Regions from separate parts of the Homo sapiens genome. Here region 2 is linked to region 1. Evidence: promoter capture Hi-C in 16 types of primary human blood cells and fetal thymus (Javierre and others, 2016). All regions are on one chromosome and are shown on one strand. The core of a region is centred on a gene start or on the middle of the fragment in contact, and the rest is flanking DNA. Distances in the headings are between cores, read along the strand shown. Region 1 holds the start of YEATS4 (YEATS domain containing 4). Region 2 overlaps BEST3 (bestrophin 3).

Region 1 (5,214 bases), core at 934-3,433:
TTAACTCTTCAAGGCCACATGATTCCAGTACAACCGCTTGCGGGGTTCCAAGCCACTTCTTGGCTATGTAAATGCAGCACATAGACTAGCCATGTGAGGGCAGCAGAGGGCCACTACATAGGTGCAACCTTTGGCTTCAAAATTCTTGGACCATTCTGACGTGATTAAACTAAAAACGAATGAGTTTATGCATATCGAGATACCCTGAGGTGTACAAAGGATGAGTCAAGGTAGCGGAGAGAGAGTTGAAGAGTGACAGCTGAGAAACAGAGATAGGACATGTCCAAGAAGTGCCAGGATAACCCAACAACACAGGCTGATTGAGGAAACTGCCAGAGATTAGACAAAGTAGACTGAAGAGGGAAAGCAATGTTTGTTGGAGATTTTGCTTTAGTTTTTGATAAATATTTCTTAGTCATACCAATTGTTTTAAATATAATTACGCCCCCAAACCAAATTTCTACTCTTATTCTGGCAACAGAATAAAAATCAATATCAATGTTTGATCATTTTCAAAGAAACTCAGTTCCTATCTTGGTTGAAATGCAGTGACATCCATATGACAATTGAGCTCTTCATGTGGCACTAATATAACTAAGCCCTGAGCACATCCCTTGCACTTCTATTTAGTGAAGTCTTTTAAAAAGTATTTTCTTTACAGTTGTTAAGTGGAATTACTAAAAATTACAATCAGCAGTATTTTCTACTCTTTTAGCTTATTTTTTAAAATATTTATCTCCATGCTTTTCAATATTACACCTATATTGCTTCTTCTTGATTTTTCCATTTTAAGATACTGACTTCCTACTATGGAAGTTAAAGATTAAGCTCTATTTCCTCCTCCTCCATCCCCATCAAGCATAGTACCCTTCTCCAAAGCCCATCCTTCTAAATGTAATTCTTTTTTTGAGGGGGAGGGGGGATCAATACTCAGTTTTTTTTTGTTTTGTTTTTTTTTTTTTTTTGAGACGGAGTCTTGCTCTGTCACCCAGGCTGGAGTGCAGTGGTGCGATCTCGGCTCAAGGCAAGCTCCGCCTCCCGGGTTCACGCCATTCTTCTGCCTCAGCCTCCCAAGCAGCTGGGACTACAGGCGCCCACCACCACGCTCGGCTAATTTTTTTGTATTTTTAGTAGAGACGGGTTTTCACCGTGTTAGCCAGGATGGTCTCGATCTCCTGACCTCGTGATCCGCCCACCTTGGCCTCCCAAAGTGCTGGGATTACAGGCGTGAGCCACCGCGCCCGGCCAATACTCAGTATTTATGTAACAATAAATACAATTACTTTCCTTTCTTGCACAAGATTTTGTTTTCCCTAGAATTAATAGCTGCATAATTCTTACAGCCGCTTAGTTTTCTGTGTACCTGTCATGAGTTAAACTCCAAACTCTCGGTCAAATCTCCTCTTGATTCAACGCCAGCTGGAATTTTGTCAATCCCATCCTTCTGAAGCAGTGTCTCCCAAAGATTTCTGACCGAATCTAATCTAGATGCGTTGCCGTCTATGCCTATACACAGCTATTGTTCCCGGAGCTCTTTCAGTATCATCTTGGGATCTTACTATTTTCTGTGTTTGTTATTTATTGTATTTCCTGCATTTCATAATTTCCTCCTTCTTGGCTTATTCCCTCATTTTGGTGGATCAGATCTACAGGATCTTCCTGGAGGTACTGAGAAAGGTAAGATAGGTACTATTTTTTGTGTGTAGTGATTTAGCACATCTGAAACTCTATTCTATTCACACACTAGATTGGTAGTTGGATGAGTATTGAAGACTAAATCGGAAGTAATTTTCCCTCAGAGTTTTGAAGACAGTGCCGTATGGCTTCCTAGATTCTAACTGAGCAATCTGAAGCCACTCTGATTCTATAGTCTGTATAACCTGGAAGGGTGTGGGATCTCTTTTTCCTCGATGTTCAGAAAATTCACAATGATATGCCTTGACGTGGATGCTTTAATATTTGTGCTGGGTGCTTAGTAGGATCTTTCAGTGTGGAAACTCATCTCCTTAACATCTGGACAACTTTTTGAAGTCATTTATTATTTCCTGCCTTTCATTTTTTTTTTGGTTTGGAACTCCTGCACTGGTCCTGTGATGTGACTGCAGCCGCCAGGCGCGTGCGCAGTGTACACTGCGTGCGCATACGCGAGCCCGTTGCGCCTGCGCGCGGTGCGGCCGTCGCCCCTCTTTTCGCGGCGTTCTCCACCTGCGCGGGCCTGAATGGCCTTCAGGAGCACAGTCGGCCTGAGGAGTTGACGGTTACTCACCGCCGTGAGCCCAAGTAACTCGCCCTCCTTCGGCTAGAAACCCTCCGCCTGGGCCCGCGCGACAGGAGCGCGGTCTCTGAGGGGAGCGGCGACCCCGCCAGCCCCGGTCTCTTTCCCTGGCGGCGGCGGCTTCTTCCGTGGGACAATATGTTCAAGAGAATGGCCGAATTTGGGCCTGACTCCGGCGGGAGAGTAAAGGTCAGTGCCCGGACCGCCCCTCTTCCGGGGTGGCTCTCCCGCCTCGGTTCCTCCCTGCGCGGCGCGGGGAGGGCCCACTGGGTTTCCTTTCGCGCCTTTTCTCCTCGGGTTTGAACCGTGGTTTCAGGTTGGAGAGCGAGTCAGAGCCATTGAGCGAAAAACCGGCGTTCATTGGGCCCCAACTTCCTCGCGTCACTGCCAACTCCCACCCCCGCCAAAAAACAAACAGATAAATGGTGGCTTGGGGAAACCCGGACGTGGCTGCCAAGGAAACGGGCGACTCCGAGGGCTGGGAAAGCTCAGCTTGGTGCACATTCGCTGCCAATCTAGGTTATTGGTGAAGCGGTGACGCCACCCTCCTGGTGTGAGGATAACAATAACTGTAGCAAACAGTCGCTGAGCGCTTACCCGCAGTATTTCCAAGTGCGGTAACTGAGACACCGAGGCATACGAAAGCTAAGAAAATTTGCTGGAGTTCATGGTGTTCACAAAGCCTCAAAGCAAGAGCATAACACTGTGCCTGGCACATGGGGAACATTCAGTAAATGTCAACTTCTTTTGTTTTTGATGAAATTACCATAGACCCTAGCGTAATGTTTGACATTGTAATATTTATTTCCCTCACACAGCCCCTGGCACGTTAATTTTTTTTTTTTTTTGAGACGAAGTGTCTGTCTTGTTGCCCAGGCTGGAGCGCAATGGCACGATCTCGGCTCACTGCAACCTCGGCCTCCCAAAGTGCTGGGATTACAGGCGTGAGCCACCGCGCCCAGCCGTGGTTCATTCTTTTTAAAGAAAAATTTCCTTTCCTTTATAAATAAAAATCAGAAGGGGTACAAATAGTTGTTTTTATCAGGAGCCAGTGGGTCCTGCCTTAAAAATTAACGTGCAGGGCCGGGCAAGGTGGCTCACGCCTGTAATCCCAGCACTTTGGAAGGCCGAGGAGGGTGGATCACCTGAGATCAGAAGTTCAAGACCAGGCTGGTCAACATGGTGAAACCCCGTCTCTACTAAATATACAAAAATTAGCCGGGCGTGGTGGCGGGCACCTGTAATCCCAGCTACTAGAGGGGCTGAGGCAGGAAAATCGCTTGAACCCGAGAGGCGGAAGTTGCAGTGAGCTGAGATCGTGCCACTGCACTCTAGCCTGGGCGACAGAGCAAGACAATGTTTCTTTAAAAAAAAAATAGCAATAATTAGTAGGTTTTAAAATACTTATGTGTGTGTGTGTGTGTGTGTGTGTGTGTTTTGTTTTGTTTTTTTTTGAGACGGAGTTTTGCTCTTGTTGCCCAGGCTGGAGTGCACTAGCGCAATCTCGGCTCTCCGCAACCTCCACCTCCTGGATTCAAGCGATTCTCCTGCCTCCAAGCGATTCTCCTGCCTCAGCCTCCTGAATAGCTGGAATTACAGGCATGCGCCACCATGCCCAGCTAATTTTGTATTTTTAGTAGAGACGGGGGCTTCTCCGTGTTGGTCAGGCTGGTCTCGAACTCCCGACCTCGGGTGATCTGCCCGCCTCGGCCTCCCAAAGTGCTGGGATTACAGGCGTGAGCCACCGTGCCTGGCCGCTTTTCTTCATTTTTATTGTTGTTGGTTACATTCACTCAGCACTTTTCACATGTGGTAAATCTTGCTCATTGTTCTTCAGATACATTTCTGTAACTGAGCCATTGGTTTCAGATTCATGTGCAACATTCAATATTTTCACTTCAATTGAAATTTTTTATCTTTCCAACATAATCTGTCAATACGCACTGCCTTTGCACTTATCAGATATAAGAAATATGTATGTTAAACTAAGGACAAATGTAGCAAACATGTCATCAGCCACTATTTACCAAGCTTCAGTCATCCAAGTGACTCTTGGCCATTTTTGCCATGTCTGAATTCAACTGTAATATTTATTGTAACATTTACATTTAAATCAGTTTATTTTTTAAAAGCCTCTTTCTAAGCGTTAATGTTTTTTAAATTGTAGGGTGTTTGGTTGTTTTTTTTTTTTTTTTTTTTTGGAGACAGAGGCTCGCTCTGTTGCCCAGGCTGGAGTGCAATGGTATGATCTCGGCTCACTGCAACCTCTGCCTCCCAGGTTCAAGCAATTCTCCTGCTTCAGCCTCCCAAGTAGCTGGGATTACAGATGCACACCACCAAGCCCAGCTAATTTTTGTATTTTTAGTAGAGGTGGGGTTTCACCATCTTGGCCAGGCTGGTCTTGAACCTCTGACCTCAGGTGATCCACCCACCTTGGTGAAATTGTAGGTTTTAATTTCTAGTTACAGTTATTACTATTTTTTAATACTGATTAAACACGTAAGTAAAAAAGTGAAAAATGTTTGACCTTTATTCTACCTCTCACAAATTACTCCTAATATTTATACTATACTTTGGGAAACACTGCCACAGGCTAGGTGATAAGGACATTGCCACAGGTGATGCCAGTCAGAATTGGCCATTTTTATTTCAATGCCTAGCTTTCAGGTGTTTAAGAAAAGGCCTTTTGCATTTCTTTTAACAACACTCTAAAAGCGCTTTACATGGTAATTTAAATAAAAGCATTTTCAAAGAGGGAACATTGTAATTATTCTGGCGTTTTTTGTGTTAATATGAAAGGATGTGTCTGAAATTGATTTGAGAGAAATCCATATTATAAGCAAACTATAGATTGTTAGCCTGCCATTCTTTAAAGCAAGTTTTCAGAGCTCTTATTCTGCATATTTAGCTAATGGTACAATATTCATTTATTTTAAAAT
Region 2 (5,214 bases), core at 1,925-4,424, 340 kb after region 1:
TCGGTTCACTACCAGAGTAACATAAAACCCTGTAGAATAACAGGAAATTATAAAGCAGTTTCTTACAGCAGACACGTTGGTGACACTGATGCTTTTAGCTGAATTTTAGCCTTTTTAGAGGTTGGAGGACAAAAATATATTATTATCCATATCTTCTGATTTTGCCTTCCAGAAAAAAAATGTCATTTGTGCCTGGCAATGCCTAAGCACCCTGTAAGTGGGTATTAGATCTCAAATATTGACTGCAAAAATGGAGAGTTAGTGAAGAGAAAGCTTAAATGTCCAATAGCAGATTATTTCCTCAAACTTGTTTGGTGTTAATTTCGCAAAAGCAGCCGTGAAGGCAAACCTTATGGATGATTCTGGTTCTATTGCAAGCGGTGGCTTTTCAGGCATGCCTCTCAGCTTGGAAACACTCCCATGCAGAGTCATCGGTGTCATCCTAACGGAGACAGCTATGTGGCTGCAATCTGCGTGTGACCTATACTTACCAAGCACAAAGGTTACTGGAATTTGTTCAGCATATCTGTCACAGTAAATTGATAATTTTTCAAAGTAACGTTTTTGGACTCCTGTAAGTAACAATCTGGAGCAAAAATAAAATGCACAGCCCTTTATGATATTATACTTCTGCACCTGCTTTGCAAGTGACATTAAGTGCAAACAATTAAGCACAAATAATCTTTTATTTTTGAAGGATCAATAATTTTTTCCTTTTTTCTTAAACTGATGTGTCTCAAAAGCTTTTTAATTGCTTAATGTCTCAAGTGCTAACATTTTGTAAACATGATTGGCTATTAAATAGTGGGATTAATTAATCATTTTATTTTAAAAACTTTATATTTTAAAAGTTTTATATGATTGATTCATTGGATTTAGAGCAAGGTATGTTACAAAATAGTTCAGTTTTCAATTATTCATCAGGAATACCTTAAAAAGAGTGTATTATTGATTAAGTATGAATTAGCATTATTAAGTAATTGTTAAATAATAACACTGAATTTGACACCTTGATATTTCTCCTGAATATGCAACTTAGCACATTCTTGATTATCATGTGTATAATATCCCTTCAAGGGATATTATAACTGTTCATTTTAAAGCCCAGAATTGTTTGGAGTCTAAAACAAATTTAACAATGAGAAATGAAAACTTTCATTATTAAATTTAGTCACTCTCTCAAAATTTATATTATAGATCTAACCCAACCTGCCCAAACCCCATTTTCTGGTATTGTTAAACATAAGTGCATTTAATGAGACTATTATTGATATTTACATTATAGGGAAGAGATTCAGAGTCTGGAGAAATGTTTTAAGGCAAACTAATAATAATGACCAAAATACAGGAAGGAAAGCCAAACAGATGAATTTGAATAAATCGACGAGTGTAGCTGTTCCAAAGGAGGAAGGAACTCAAGGAAAGATCCATTATAACAAGCATCAAAGGCTCATTTGGGTCAGTAGAACTTTGATAAAGGAAGCAAAGGGATAATGAGATAACAGTAAGCAACCAATTAGATTGCAGATAGAGAGCTGTTGGGAGCTGGTCCTGACAAAGAAGGTGTGTGGGGTACAGGGTGAGCTTGGAGTTCCTGCCCCAGCTTTGGAAGAGGTGTTAGAATTACTGAAGTCAGGGAAAGCTGACAGGAGAGGTACCAGATTGTTGCAGAGGTCTATCAGGGTTATGCTGATGACAATTACAGCCAGAATGGTTTCTGATGTTCAAATAGACATGGTCAAAGAGGATTTAAATGTGGAAAGCATGGACCTTTTTTAAGGTCAGACAAAGCCAGATTTTAATTCCAAGTCTGACACTTATGAATTTGGACTTTGAGCATATTTTTGAACTCTCTGAGTCTCAGTTTTCTCATCTGTAAGTGGGGATAAAAATATCTATATATAAGAGGCATTGTAAAGATTAAATAATATATGTATACATATATATAACCACTTAACAAATTGCCTCATACTTAGTTAATAATAAAATGGTTCATATTAATAGTTGGCCAAAGAAAAAATATTTGGCTAATAGATGTAGAAATTTTAATAGCTAGAAAGTATTTCAGAAATTATTTTGTCAAATTCCTCCAAAAATAGAAATAAATGTAATCAAATTAATGAATCTGGTTCCTCCTTATAATTTTTGTTAGGAATAATTATGTACCTATAATAGAGCTAATAAAGACTTAGAGAATGAAACTACATCTATATTTTTCTATAGATGTGTTTGATTTTCTTGACAAACTCATCCTATAGTTCTTGGTATACCTTTGATTAAGATAGAAAGATCTATTTTAATAAGGTATTACAATTGAACTTTAAAAATTTAAGGATGACTTGAACTGATAATTTTTGTTATAAATGTAAGCCCTCTGCTTTAGAAGAAATATATGCATAAAATGTTGTGGGGTATAAGTATGATATTGGAACAAAAGTTGAGGCCCCAAGGAACATTTCTAGCTACATTGCAACTGTACTAAGGGCTATTCTGTTCTATTCTTAGCAGAAGTAGCAGCAATAAATTCACATTAGTAAAAATGAACTAATGAGATAATTATCACGAAACACCATTGTATCTTTTACCATTTCATATTCTGAAGGCTTAGGTGATACCTACCTAAATTGCCAAAATAATATCATATTATATGACATGTCTGAAAAATTATTAGAGGTTGTTAATAGGACTTTCCCTCTAAAAATATTTTGTCAAGATATATACCAATGCATACACTTGCTTGGAAGGGTTGTTTTGACATGTGGAAAAATAGCTGTACCTATTTTACTTTTAATAATTATCAGTCAACTACATTAATATCCCTCTTTTCCAAAGGAGATCCTGTTGCTGCAAGGAAGAATGTGAGAGCAATGAAACACAAATTTGTTTATCTGTATGCAGAAGAAAAATAACAAACTATGAACATAGAAAAAATGGAAATACAGCCTCAAAAACCTTTAGCTTTCCTGTTTTAAATTTTAGCTTCCTCCAGAGAAGAAATTTATGCATTCAATTTTAATAAAAAAAGCTTTAAAATCTCATAAGTCTTCCCTTTTATCATACTGATGAAATTTTATTAAGACTATAACTTTTCATCATAAAAATATTTCTTGGACTTGATATTGCTCAAATTTCCTGTCAATCTGACAGGCATATGTTGTAATGTTATAAAGAATAAGCACCTCCTTTTGTGAACATAATATACCCTCAACTCAGAAAACGGAAAGAAAATAAATTATTCTACAGGCCTTTGCTTTAGTTGAGGTACTGTTAAGTGTGGCAGGCATCATCCTGGATAAGATATTTTCATTCCAGGCCAAAAGAAGGAAAGCTTTTCCCTGACATACACCAATCATGAACATGTTGATTATATAGGTAGTTGCTACAAGCTGTCAAATCATCAACTATGAATGACAAGTTGACAGAAGCACAAATAATTATTGTCTGTGGACTTTGCCCATTCAAAAGTCTTTACACAGTAAAGATCTAAGGATAATCCTTCCATTTTGTGCCTATTGCAACAGTCTCGAGGCACAACTGGGGCTGGAATGAAGGCCACCTGAATCTTAACAGTGAGGGTCTATTTTACAACCTAACAATGGTTAGTGGTGGATTAAAATCTGTCCTGAGGGGAAGAAGACAAATGAGAGGCTCACGCAAAAAAGGAGTTCCATAATGCGAAGTCAGTGGCAATCAAAAGGTTCAGATTTTTGAGACTGTATCTTACACAATATCTGATGGCCATTTAAGGAGACATGTAAAGAAAAGTACCTGTATACCAAACTTATTGCTGTATAAAGAACAGCAAAAACAATAAATTCCCTGTACAGTAGTTTGTAGATGCTGCCTCTCCACTTGAGGAGTAACCTATGAAATCCAAAAAAAGTTGCATTTGCTACTTTACTGGAGTAAGTGACAGTCATCTTGGATAGTTTTTTCTAGAAGAGCAAGAAGACAAAACACAAGTAAAAAGCAATGTTTAAAATAGGGCATAAATCTGTATGTCTGTATATCAAGGAAATTCAAGCCAGCAACTAGTCAGCCATATCTCTGTTTTGTCTTTCTTAGTTTCTATAATTCGGAACTTTCAGATAACCATTATCTCAGTTTAGCAGAAAGCAGGAGGAAAGCAGTCTCTGGGAAGAGTAATATTAGACATCTTAAACTTGCCTTAACTGTTAAATATTATTTTTAGATTATATAGCCATTGGCCAATATATATTTGAATGAACAAATGAGACAAACAAGGCCCTCGTGAGAATTTAATTGATGGGGCACTTTTGGTGGGTTTGATTGCATGTAGATGTCTCTCTAGTGGAGGTCCAAATGCATCGTTAGCACTCATTGCATTTCAAAAGTCAGCCAAAAAGTTGGGTCATAGTGATAAATAAGAATGGTGCAGTTTCCCCATGACAAGTTGTACATAAATGCTTAGGGATGGTTCACATTCTCTTTGGAGTTGAACAAAATGAGGTCATTATTTACAACTCTTTCTACTTGAGTCCATTTCATGAATGTGGTTAGGATGAGCACTGGGCCCAAAAGCCTTGTTTTTGGTGAGTTCTTTGGAATTCCACCACTTTTCACCAAGACATTAAATATTCAGGTTTTGAAACAGACAGCGCAAAGCTAATCTTTGAAAATCTTGCTCAATTTCTGGCTAAGATAGAACATATGCAAATAAAATGAGATTTATTTAAAATCTTACTTTTCTCAAAAGGATCTATGAGGAGAGTCTTATAGAGCTACTTAGACTGAAATCATGAAGCTTTTAGATAGAATTGTACTAGACACAAAAAATAAATTCTGTAGCAGATTTCTTTTGTAAAGTAGCCTACACCACACATTTTATCATAAACAAGAAAATTTTCTATCTTTACTCATTGCTGGAAAAACAATTCAACTCTGATTTGCCTATTTTCCCTAAGGAAATGAAACTCTGGAGCTACGTTTACAGCATTTTCTAAAATCACAAACTTAGCTTTCAACATTACTGATTTTAATAAAGAAGGTAGGGCCTTTTGGCACAAGTAAGTGGCATTACAAAAGGATGGGACTCATGCCACAAAACCGGTTTTATTTTTCCATCTTTACCTTGTCTATTTGCCTAGTGCGAATACAGCCAAAATTGGGAGAGGAGCATAATAAATTAAACCCATTTCATAATTTGTTCTCATGGACTCCCGGTAGTTTTAAATAACAGTCCTTAATTAACTT

What was found. Contacts are between HindIII fragments. The CHiCAGO score rates a contact against its expected background, and 5 or more counts as called.
Region 2: a contact is called between a fragment that was not itself captured here and the fragment with the promoter of YEATS4 in region 1, in 1 of 17 cell types (fetal thymus). The highest score is 5.1, in fetal thymus.

The regions. Positions count from the first base shown.
Region 1 is chr12:69,357,560-69,362,773 of GRCh38, forward strand. YEATS4 (YEATS domain containing 4) reads left to right here and starts at 2,184. Exons shown (of 7, transcript NM_006530.4): 1 at 2,184-2,464. The coding sequence starts at 2,414. RefSeq lists enhancers at 1,928-2,531, 2,089-2,278, 2,532-3,133 and a silencer at 2,559-2,718. The HindIII fragment of the contact is 4,618 bases long and covers 1-4,304 here.
Region 2 is chr12:69,693,879-69,699,092 of GRCh38, forward strand. BEST3 (bestrophin 3) reads right to left here. Exons shown (of 10, transcript NM_032735.3): 2 at 3,769-3,935; 3 at 492-586; 4 at 1-29. The coding sequence starts at 3,920. Among named protein-coding and RNA genes, the nearest start is that of BEST3, 2.8 kb to the right of the region's middle. The HindIII fragment of the contact is 303 bases long and covers 3,024-3,326 here.